Linked DNA regions of Homo sapiens: region 1 is linked to region 2. The links are contacts of gene promoters, found by promoter capture Hi-C in blood cells and fetal thymus (Javierre and others, 2016). All regions are on one chromosome and are shown on one strand. The core of a region is centred on a gene start or on the middle of the fragment in contact, and the rest is flanking DNA. Distances in the headings are between cores, read along the strand shown.

Region 1 (5,759 bases), core at 639-3,138, 400 kb after region 2:
CCAGCCCGCCACCCGCTGACAGGCCCTGGTGTAGGTGTGTGATGTTCCCCACCCTGTGTCCAAGTGTTCTCATTGTTCAGTTCCCACCTATGAGTGAGAACATGCGGTGTTTGGTTTTCTGTCCTTGTAATAGTTTGCTGAGAATGATGGTTTCCAGCTTCATCCATGTCCCTGCAAAGGACATGAACTAATCCTTTTTTATGGCTAAAAAACGTTTTAAAGATAGTCAATTTTGATCTTTATCAGATAACAGGCTTTGCTTAGTTCTGTAGATTGACCCTCCTGTGGGTGCTTTCTCTGCATGGGAAGCCCTTATCTGGATGCCTCCTTAAACCAGACACACTGTTTTAATTATTATCTCAGTAGATACTGGCTCTGGGCAAATTACTGTGGGAAAACTGAAAAATGATTTTTTTTTTAAAGTCTCCAGAGAATCTTCTGGAATAGGTGTGGCAGTGAAAGAAGAAAACAAAGAATTCCTCTCTTCAGGCCCTGTGCTTCCATGGATCTGATACAGTTATTTTGTAACAAGTCAAATCTAACAGATTTCTTATTGTACACACTTACATAAGATGTAGAAGCTTTCAAAAACAATGCACACCACCTGATTTGACTGATTAAATTTACAGTACTGTTAACACATTGAGTGGTGAATCCGCAGCCCATGCTGCTAAAATATTGCTGCATTCTATACCTCTCCATATTGCCAAGTTTAGAAGTTAATAATTTAATCTTTTTTTTTTTTTTTTAAAGAGATGGGGTCTTGCTATGTTGCCTGTGCTGGTGTGCAATGGCATGATTATAGCACACTGCAGCCTTGAACTGGGCTCAAACAATCCTCCCACCTCAGGCACCTGACCAGCTGGGACTACAGGCACACACCACTGTCCCCAGCTTAATCATTCTTTTTAAATTACATTTTTATTAACTTTCTTTCCTGAATACAGTGAAAGGAAAAAGTGAATCAGGAATAAATATTTGTAATAGTTAGTACATAGTTGGATATTTTCAGAGAAATTTTGTATTGTAAGATTACAGTTAATTTTATGTATTTTTTGAAAAGCTAAACATGTAATTTAGAAATATCAACTTTAATCAGAGATAAGTTGCCAGGGCTTACATGTGAGCACAAGGTAGGCGTTCGTTGGTGAATATCTTTAAGATCAAAGGATGCCAGGAGCGGTGGCTCGTGCCTGTCATCCTAGCACTTTAGGAGGCCAATGCAGTAGGATCACTTGAGGCCAGGAGTTCAAGACCAGACTGGACAACATAGTGAGACTCCATCTCTACAAAAAAAATTTTTTTAAGTCACAAGGATGGGTTTTCCAGTGTAATACTTTAAGATGTAAGTTGGGGTTCTAATGAAATGATGTGATCTAATGGAATATAATTAACTCAAAGAAGATTTGGAAAAAGCTTTTAATGAAGTAGCATTGAAATTTATTTCACTGTTTCTTGGTCCTTCTGATTGGCCCTACGATTTATTTTGTTTAATATTTAGTGGTATGACCCACAGTGAAATTAAACTTGAAGTGTCTCTAGTACTAAAAGAAGATAATAGTGGATGAGCGTGTGACTTATCCATGGAAGAGAAGAAAAGTGAAGAGTTCTTTTGTTTTTTAAGAGACAGACTTAGTATTGTTGCCTAGGCTGGTCTCCAGAGCTCAGGCGATCCTTCCCACCTCAGCCTCCCAAGTAGCTGGGACTATAGGTGTGAGATTTTTAGAAATCCTTCATGTAATAAAAATATTTAAGAAGGGAAAATAGAACTCCTAAATGTTTTTGGCATGTCATTCCCTTCATTTAGTAATTGGGTTTGCATGCTTTTCTTGACAAAGGAATTTCTGTACCGCAGAGAGCTTTTTCACTGTGACTATGCTGTGTTTAGCAAAGAAGAGTTTGCCTAATTGATTTCAAACTGATTTCCATACACAGAACATATAACGTTTTAGTAGATATATCTGATAGTTCAGTAATTAATTCACCTAGTTGTATTAGCTCATACTCATACACCACACACGCTGGCCAAAACCCATTGCAGCAAATGTGGGCAACAAAAAAAATCAGCTTTCAACTGGGGAGAGCCACCTTGCAAAAGTGATTGTTCCTGGTAAGTCCTCTCAAGAATTGAAAGATATCATGCCTTGCCTCTGAACAATGCAAGGAAAGAGGCTTGCTGCTGAACATAGACAGTAAAGTCTAAACATTTTATAGCCTTAGATAATGGTTTCTTTGGGAAAGACCTTAAAATAGGAGTTACTGGGGAATGTTTATTAATAATCACGTAGTGCTGAGAAGGAGGATGTCTTAAAAACCAGACTTGTGTCCTGATTCTCCCATCTGTCAGCTCAGCAAGCTTAACACAAGTTATATAGCTTTACTGAATCTTAAGTTTCCCCATCTACACATAGGCTTTGGTAATACTTACTTCACGGGTTGTTGTGAGGAATAAGTGAAGTAATACACGTAAATACACATGTCATAAAGCATATCCTCAATAAATATTGGTTGATTCCAAATTTCATATTGTGGCATTGTTTAGATCACCTACCCTAAAATAAAACTTGATCTGCTTATCTAGCGGATGTTAGTGAAATGACTTCAGCTGATAAAAGGAAAATGCATTTCCTGTGTGTTTATCATTCAAGGTGAAACAGGAGAGAAGTATATAATAGTTTGTTTAAAATACTATCGATAGCTGGCCGACACAGTGGCTCACACCTGTAATCCCAGCACTTTGGGAGGCCAAGGCTGGTGGATCACTTGAGGTCAGGAGTTTGAGACCAGCCTGGCCAACGTGGCGAAACCCCACCTCTACTAAAAATACAAAAATTAGCCAGGCTTGAATGGTGCACGCCTGTAGTCCCAGCTACTCGGGAGGCTGAGGTGTGAGAATGGCCTGAACCCAAGAGGTGGAAGCTGCAGTAAGCCGAGATCGTGCCACTGCACTCCAGCCTGGGTGACAGAGCGAGGCTTGGTCTCAAAAAAAAAAAAAAAAAAAAAGGTCCCAGCTACTTGGGAGGCTGAGGTGTGAGAATTGCTTGAACCCAAGAGGTGGAAGCTGCAGTGAGCTGAGATTGCGCCACTGCACTCCAGCTTGGGTGACAGAGCAAGGCTTGGTCTCAAAAAAAAAAAAAGTCCCAGCTACCCCGGGGACTGAGGCAGGAGAATCGCTTGAACCCAGGAGGTGGAGGCTGCAGTGAGCCGAGATTGCGCTACTGCACTCCAGCCTGGGCGACAGAGCGAGACTCCATCTCAAAAACTAAATAAATTAAAATACTACTGATAGGAACTTAACCCTTGAAAATTCCAGATGTTCACATTTTCACAAAGGGAAGGAGGGCAAATTCTGTGAACTTTACTATGCTAGATAAGGAAGCCTAACTCCAATCCTACGTGAGATTTCTGTCTTGAGTCGTTAACAATACTCTTTCTGAGTACTTAAATGCAGTGAAGCCTCCTGGGATACCACAGGGATTGGCCAACAACTACAGGCACAACTCATTTCCTTTTAAAATGGATTTACAACCCTGGGAGACTAGGAAAATTCAGATATTATAATGGGATTTCAGCAGGCTGTTCCTCTAAAGAGCTAAACAATTTTATTCAGAAGTTGCTAGTTAATGGGAAGGGGCAGCCTCTGGCAGCTTTGTCCTCACCTCTGTTCTCTTTTGTTAGTAACTTAGATGGAAATACTGATTACATGCTGATCCTAAATTCAGGAAGTTGAGACAGTAAATCTGTAGTGTGTCAGAATCCACATCCAGAAAATCTTCATAGGCAAGAATGTAATAAGATGAAACTCAATTACAGGTATATTAAGGCCTATGCTTGGGCCTCTGAATCCAACTGTACAGGTGGGAGCTTAGCACAATCAAGTGTGAAAAAGAACTTGGTGTTTTAGGGAGTTACTCTCATGTGATATTCAGAAAATTTGTAAAGCCAATGCAGGCTGGGTGCGGTGGCTCATGCCTGTAATCACAGCATGTTGGGAGGCTAAAGCAGGAGGATCACTTGAGGCCAAGAGTTCAAGACCAGCCTAGGCAATATGGTGAGACCTTGTTTCTAACAAAAACAAAAAACCTCAGTACAACTTCAGGTTGCATTAATTGAAATTCGTTAGCCAGAATATGAGAACTGAGATCCCATTATGTTCTGACCAGGGTGACTTTACCTCATTTTAATATATGTCCATCAAACTGGAGCATGTGTAAAGAGGAAGACAAAAGGGAAATAGGTAGCTAGGAAACATGCTAGTCAGAGGAATGGCTTAAAGATCTGCATGTCTATTCTAGAGAACACAGTATTTGGAGGCTGTTTTCAGGTATTGGAGCACTTATTTAGAAGGGAGAGCACATTATCTCAAAAGGTAGATTTAAGGCCGGGCGTGGTGGCTCACGCCTGTAATACCAACACTTTGGGAGGCTAGGGCTGGGTGTATCACTTGAGGTCAGGAATTAGAGACCAGCCTGGCCAACATAGTGAAACCCCGTCTCTACTAAAAATACAAAAATCACCCGCGTATGGTCGTGGGCACCTGTAATCCCAGCTACCAGGTGGCTGAGGTGGGAGGATCACATGAGCCTAGGAAGGGGAGGCTTCAGTGAGCTGAGATTGCACCACTGCACTCCACCCTGGGCAATAGAGTGAGACTCCATATCACACACACGCACACATACACATACACACACACACACAAAAGTAAGACTAGTAGATAAGTGACTTTCAGTATCTTGGTAAGTCTCTTAAGCATTTGAGTCTAGCTCTAGAGGAAATAGTGAGTTCTCTGTCACCTGATGAGAGATGCTGTGGAGGGGTTTCGGGCATCTGATGAATAAATATAACAGATGAACAGTAACTTCTTCAAATCCAGAAATTCTGAGATTGGTATATGAATAAATAGGTAGCTTCGAACATGAACCATTTGTAATGATTCTTTAGTTTTAATTTTTTTCTGGTGTATTGGTTAAGCATCTTATCTCTCAAATGGTTAATATTACTTATACTTTATAAAATATTTATTTTTAAATTATTCTCATAGTGGTAATTGCGTATTGTTTTATCTCACAGGTAGTCTCCCACTATTTTATATCTTTGTTACTTCAAGTAAGACAATCTTAAATATGAGAGGACATCTAGAGATTGTGCTAAGATTGCGTCGTGATGGTAATTAATGTAACTGATAGAATGTTATCTTTTCCAGGTAGTAAACCTATTGATGGCAATTTTGCTGACTGTGGAAGTGACTCATCCAAACTCCATGCCAGCTGTCAACATTCAGTATGAAGTCATCGGTAATTACTATTCGTCTGAGAGAATGGCTGGTATGTGTTTAATAGAAAAACAAAAAAATCTCCCCTGCTAATTTTTATATACAGTCCTGTGTTGTTTAATGATGGGGACACATTCTGAGAAATGTCACTGGGTGATATTGTTGTGTGAACATCATAGGGTGTACTTACACAAACCTAGATAGCGTAGCCTACTATACACCTAGGCGATGTGGTAGAGACTCCTAGGCTAAAACCTGTACAGCAGGTTACTGTACCGAATACTGTAGGCAGTTATCATACAGTGGCAAATAGGTGTGTATCTAAAGATGGAAAAATATAGTAATACTGTAAATACACTATTACAGTGTTATGGAACCCTCATGATATATGCAGTCCATTGTTGACCAAAATGTTGTTGGCCCATGTCTGTCTGTCTCCACACACACTGGTTATTTAGGGGATTGATTAGATTATGCTTAAGTTACA
Region 2 (6,349 bases), core at 3,775-6,274:
ATAGGTTGGGGCCTGGTGGCTCATACCTGTAATCCCAACACTTTCGGAGGAGGATATAACAGGACTGCTTGAGCCCTGGAGTTCGAGACCATCCTGGGCAAAATAGCAAGACTTTGTCTCTACAAAAAAAAATTTAAAAGTTAGCTGGGCACACCTGTAGTCCCACCTACTCAGGAGACTGAGGTGGGAGGATTGCTTGAGCCCAGGAGGTTGAGGCTTCAGTGAGCTATGATGGCACCACTGCACTCCAGCCTGGGCGACAGAGCAAGACCCTGTCTCTTAAAAAGGAAAGAAAGAAATGAATCTCTAGAAGGGCATTAAACCCATTTTTGCAGAAGAATGTAGGGAAGAGAAGATAGGAGTTATGTGTGGCTTATCTTAGAAGGAAAGCTCTCTGGAAGCTATGTACTCCGTTGTGTAAGGAAGTCAAGACTGCAGGGCATAGCACCATAAGTCTGTGGAATTTAATCTATTTTCATAGGAAACCACCTCCCTACTCTGTACACTGACAAGGACTCTCCCTTATTCGAAGCCAGTAGTTCTCAAAGTGTGGTCCCAACCAGCAGCTTGTCATCACTTAGAACCTTGCTACAAATTCAAATTCTTAAGCCCTAGCCCAGACCTACTGGATCAGAAACTGTGGGGTTAGGCCCAGCCATCTGTGTTTTAACCAGCCCTCCGTGTAATTCTAATACACACTTGACTTTGAAAACTGAAGTTCCAAGTCTACTGAAACTCACGTGAAAAAGACCTTAGAAATACAATCCAGATTGATTAAAGATTAAGATTAAAGGAGAACTCAAGACAATGCCCCTTACTGCAAAATGCCCAGGATCAATGCAACTTCCCAGTATTTTCCACGAAACAGTTCAACAGGCAATTAAATCAACTCAACACATTTATTTTAAATGTGCAAAATGAATTTTCATATTCTAAGAGTAACACCAGATGTTTTACCTCTTTTTCCTAATTGATTTTCCAGCCTACAGCAATTCATCTTTATGTTTTCCAGTTGGATCCTAATGCAGCAAGAAGAGTGTGTTCCGGCAGGATTATGAAATGCCACGCATTTTCAAACAAGCATAACTTGGGCTGCCATGCGTCATCTGAGTGTTTGTCTGCCCATAATATAAAACACAGACAGTTATGGGTACCAGGCAGATCAGAGCAACCCAGAAAAGGCCCTTTCAGGGAGTTGGGCCTCCAGGCTCTTGGCTGGTTGCAAAGCTGAGTCCTGGGCATTCAGCCCAAGCCTGAACTCTTCCCCCACTGGGTCCTGCGCTCCCTGGTACCAAAGGATTTGCTAGCTGTAAAAGCTGCAAATAAACATGCTGTTTGTCGATGGGAAGTTTTGTCTTTAAAATGAAAAAGGAGACTGCAGTCTGGAGGTGAGTGGGGCCGAGGGACTGAGGAAGGAGTTAGGCAGTTGCTCAAAGCAGGCAGCCTGGATAGACCCCTCTCCCCTCTGCTCCTGGAGGAGCCCAGACAATCCCCTTCTGTTAGTCAATGCACCCACCCAGCTGAGCAGGAGGTCCAGTTACTGCCAGCATTTAAGTGGGTGAAAGGTCACCACCAACCAGGTTTTATTCACTCAACAAAAGCTCTTGGAGTCTGGGGTAAGACCAGGAAACAGAAGCCTCAAGCTTTGAAGCAAACAACTTCAAAGGAGACCTCCACCTTTGTCCTGGGAATGGGGAGGAGGGGGAAGGAGAAGGTGGCAACTAAGTGCTAGAAACCCAGAAAATGCTGATTCAAAAAAAATGAAAACCACACTTCTCAGGCAGTTGACACTCTCAGCTACCTTCCCTGGAAGCTGCGAGAGCTGGCAGGTTTGAACCATCATGCCTGCAGCAGAATTTTAATGTGGTCTCCACCTATAAATCAGCCCGTCTGGTTCTAAGAACCATTACAGCAAAGCTAAGTGTCTACGATTAGAGTTTATCATGACTCTCAAAAAGTGGCAGCTCCAACTTTAAGAACCACCAAAACATCCAATGTTCTTTCCACAATATGGCCCTTCTCTGAACTTAGAATAAATCATTCTAGGTTACTTAATAAAGGACATATTGGGATCAAAGCTTGATAATTTTAAAAAATCACCTCTTTATCTGAACTCCCCCACTTCTGGAAGCTCCAGGCCCAAAGATAACAACCTACAACTTCCTGGGATATTGTGTAAACCCCTTGATGGCCTGAAGGGAACCCAGTAAACAGGCTTCCTGATAGCGTGACCCCACACCAACGATTAATAAAGGTTTTCTAAATTTAAAATGCACAAATGATAACTTTCCAAGACTCAAAGAATAAGCAAAGCCCCATAATAGACTTAAAGACACAAGTGTTTTTAAGACACACAGATGAATGAAATCAAGATCTTCGGTCTCACCCAATTGAACTGAGTACATAATAGGTCAAAAGTTTTTGCACTGGGTGTCGGGGTATCCACTCATCTTCCTCTAGGAATGTGACAGGAACAACCTGGTCTCCCTTGGTCACCCAACCCCCACATGCTCTCAAAGGGACTTCATCCTCATTTACTACATTTGCTATAAGGGAAACGGAGTTGGCAAGAAAGGATCTCGCCTAGGAGAATATCTCCCTTGTTCCAAATTCACAAGGGTATTTTTACACACTATTAAACCACAAGAGCCATTTTATAAATGTCATCATCATAGTCTTTTAATATTTTACATAAAAAACTGTATACACAGCTTATAGAACTTTTATGTAAACATCATAAGCTCACCATTTTGTCATTTGTCAGTTTATTTAAAAAATAAAAAACAAGACAACAATTTAGTAGAAGTACCACTGGGAGGGAGGGGAGGGGAAAAAAGGATATACAGGGGCAGGTGTATTCTCTGTACAGAGGTGCAGAGAAAATTTCACATAGCTTTAGAGAATGCCTTGTGGAAAAAAAAAAAATAGGCCCCAATACTTGTTACTGCCCTTTATCAAAACTGTGTGCATGACCTGCACAAATAAAATCACAAAACAGTGTTGCCACATTCTTCAAGGAAACAAAGCAAAATTTAGTGGGTTTCTTTTCCCTCTCCTTGTTAAAAGTCATTTTTTAAAAACATCAGAAGTAGATGAGGTTACAGCGTACAAGTGTGGTCAGAATGCTACTGTCGTATGCAAATGACGAGTGCATTAAGTGTCAAACAATGAAACAATTGTGCAAAGAATAAAAAAACAAATTTTAGCCTTTAAATAAATCAAATAACATCAGTTTCTTGGACTGAACAATTTTCACTTCTAGGACAGGCACAAAGTTCGCTTATGGCAAAAACAACCCCACAGCGCATCCTCCCTCCTCCCTCCGGTAGCTGGTGGAGGGTTCGCAGCGGGCTGGCCCGCAGGAGAGGCTGTGCTGAAGCTGTGTCCTCCCCAAGTCAGTTGCAAATGTCTTCCCCAGGGGTTGGAAAGATGGTCAAGTCCTGTTCATGCTTGGGCGGGAGTCTGGCCCAGCCTGGGCCAGAGCGCTCACCCATCACCACCCTTAAATAACACCATCTTAGCTCCGAAAATAAAATTATATCTATATTTATATAACATCCCCCCATCCTCCCCAGCAGCCCTCCCCTCCCGCAGTACCCGGGGTCTATGTTACAGACAAGGGATATCAAGCTCCCGCTGGTGAAGGGCGAACATCTGATGGGGCGCGGCCACACTCCCGCGCCAATCTCGCCCCCGGGGATCAGAGGCGGGGGTGGGGTGAAAATGGGGCGAGGGGAGTCGAACAGACACACAGCCACACACTCTGAGGCCCGGCTCTTCAGAAAAGCATGCTCAGGGGACCCTTGGCACTCAGTGGGGAGCCCAGGCCTGTGCAACACAGCTGGACGCACACAGACACTGGGATGGGGGCGCCCGGTGCCCACGCCAAGTCCTGGCGCAAGCCAGAGGCGTCAGCAGACAGATGCCAGGCAGGCCGGTGGGGTCCTTGTGGGACACGGGTCTCCCCTTCTCCGGGCTCGCGGGGGACTGGTCCAGGAGGGGGAGCCGTGCCGGCAGGGGCAGGCGCGACGGGCGCGGCCCTCATAGCACCTTGCAGCAGTTGATGCAGCCGTTCTGGGAGCCGTAGCGCTTCTGCAGCGCGGCGCGCGTGGCCGTCTCGAAGACCTCGCGCACGCCTTCCTTGGTCTTGGCAGAGCACTCGAGGTAGTCGTAGGCTTGGATGCGCACGGCCATGGCGCGGCCGTCATCCGTGCGCACGGGTTCCTGCTTCATGCGGGCCAGCTCTGTGCGGACATGCTCGTCGCTGCGCAGGTCTTTTTTGTTGGCCACCAGGATGATGGGCACATTGGGACAGAAGTGCTTCACCTCGGGGACCCACTTCTCGGGGATGTTCTCCAGCGAGTCCGGGCTGTCCACCGAGAAGCACATGAGAATGACGTCGGTGTCCGGGTAGGAGAGCGGCCGCAGGCGGTCGTAGTCCTCCTGGCCCGCCGTGTCCCACAGCGCCAGCTCCACCTGCTTGCCGTCCACCTCAATGTCGGCCACATAGTTCTCGAAGACGGTGGGCACGTACACCTCGGGGAACTCGTCCTTACTGAACACGATCAGCAGGCACGTCTTGCCACACGCGCCGTCGCCCACCACCACCAGCTTCTTGCGGATGGCCGCCATGAGCGGGCCGGGCCCGGGCAGCAGGAGGGGGCCCGCGAACGCCTCGCTGCCCTCCCGCTCGCCGCTCACTGCTCACCTCGGGCTGCGCGCAGGTGGCGAGAGGGTCGCTAGCTGCACCCGGGCCCCGCGGTGGCGCGTTCTCTCGCTGCGCTTCGGCTGCCGCGGCGGGGGCGGTGGGGGCGCGGGGGCATAGGGCGCACCGTGCGTCTCGCCGCGCTGCTCCCGGGCGGTGGTCGCTCTGCTCACCCCAGGCCGGGGATCGGCGGCTTTGTGCGTAACGCGGGCTCGGGCAGCAGACTCGGGCGGTGGACTCGGCCTAGCTCTCTCCCGGGTCTCTCCGGGCCTCGCTGAGCATACAAGACAACAGCTCCAACCAGACTGCGGTGGCAGATGAGGGCTGCGGCCCTAGCGCCCGCTATTTAAAGAGTCCGGCCACTTTCTTAATATAGCCGTCCAATGGGAAACCAGCCGGCTGAGCTCATCGCTGCGGAGCTTAGCTCTGATTGGCCGCCCCCTGCAGCCCGAGGGCGGGGCAGGGCCAGCTTGATTGACGGCCCAGGCCGCCGGGCTGGGAGAGGCAGCGACCGGGGAGTCCGCGCTGCTGCTGCCGCTGCGGGGCTCTGGCGGTACCCGGGTCCCCTCCTTCGCCGCAGCGTTTGCGCGCGGGGTCCGGGAGCTGGCTGTCTGGAGCCTCCAGGGTCTGGGCGAGCGGTTCCGAGACAGGCTTCACTCAGTGGGGCGTTGGCGACTCCCATTCAGAATTGCCCCTCTTCCTGGCAAACTCCCGGCGGGTGGTCGGGCCTGTGGGGGAGGGGCAGCTCTTTTAACGTGGTTTTGTTTTTAAATAAACAGACACACACACACACACACACACACACACACCCCACACACACACTTTTGTTCCCAAACAAGAGTGTTTTCTCTTTTCTTTTGGAGGTGGCCCCTCCTGTGGTTTAGGGCCCCACCCGGGTACTCGCCGTGGGCCAGCCTCGGGTTTGGACCCGAGAGGCGACCGGCTGGCTGCAAACTGGCTCTTCCAAGTCCCGCCGCCCCTACCCTTCCCAACCCCCAGCTTAGGTCTCTAGGTGAAGATTAAGGGAAGAGGTGCGGAGTGGCCCAAGCTTGACAACGGAAAGGGAAGGTCGAGGCTCGAACACTTGGAGGAAGTTACCGGACAGGAAGAAGCCCCTTCGGCCCCTCTTTTCACTATGAACTCTGATCCCGGTTCTTAAAACAGAGAACTGTCTGAGATAAATTGTACAATAGAATATACACTATTGTACAATAGAATGTACAATAGAATATACACTATTGTACAATAGAATGTACAATAGAATATACACTATTGTACAATAGAATGTACAATAGAATATACACTTGTACAATAGAATGTACAATAGAATATACACTATTGTACAATAGAATGTACAATAGAATATACACTATTGTACAATAGAATGTACAATAGAATATACACTATTGTACAATAGAATGTACAATAGAATATACACTATTGTACAATAGAATGTACAATAGAATATACACTATTGTACAATAGAACGTACAATATTCCGGGTTCAATAGAATCCAACCACCCCAAGACCCCTGAGCAGACGAAAAGGCTTGAGGCTGGAGAAGAGGGGAGGAGTAAGGGGCTAGCAAATGGGGCACAGCGGGTTAGGGGGTGTCCCCTCTATTGGGGCGTAGCCTCCTGATG

Evidence for each region. The method cuts DNA at HindIII sites, captures the fragments that hold promoters and counts their contacts. A CHiCAGO score of 5 or more calls a contact.
Region 1: a contact is called between a fragment that was not itself captured here and the fragment with the promoter of RHOB in region 2, in 1 of 17 cell types (neutrophils). The highest score is 5.2, in neutrophils.

The regions. Positions count from the first base shown.
Region 1 is chr2:20,040,456-20,046,214 of GRCh38, reverse strand. It overlaps LAPTM4A (lysosomal protein transmembrane 4 alpha), which reads left to right. Exons shown (of 7, transcript NM_014713.5): 2 at 5,204-5,324. Among named protein-coding and RNA genes, the nearest start is that of LAPTM4A, 8.3 kb to the left of the region's middle. The HindIII fragment of the contact is 940 bases long and covers 1,419-2,358 here.
Region 2 is chr2:20,445,749-20,452,097 of GRCh38, reverse strand. It overlaps RHOB (ras homolog family member B), which reads right to left and starts at 5,024. Exons shown (of 1, transcript NM_004040.4): 1 at 2,658-5,024. The coding sequence starts at 4,632. The coding sequence ends at 4,042. RefSeq lists an enhancer at 1,336-1,897 and silencers at 4,606-4,815, 5,066-5,315. The HindIII fragment of the contact is 3,675 bases long and covers 2,081-5,755 here.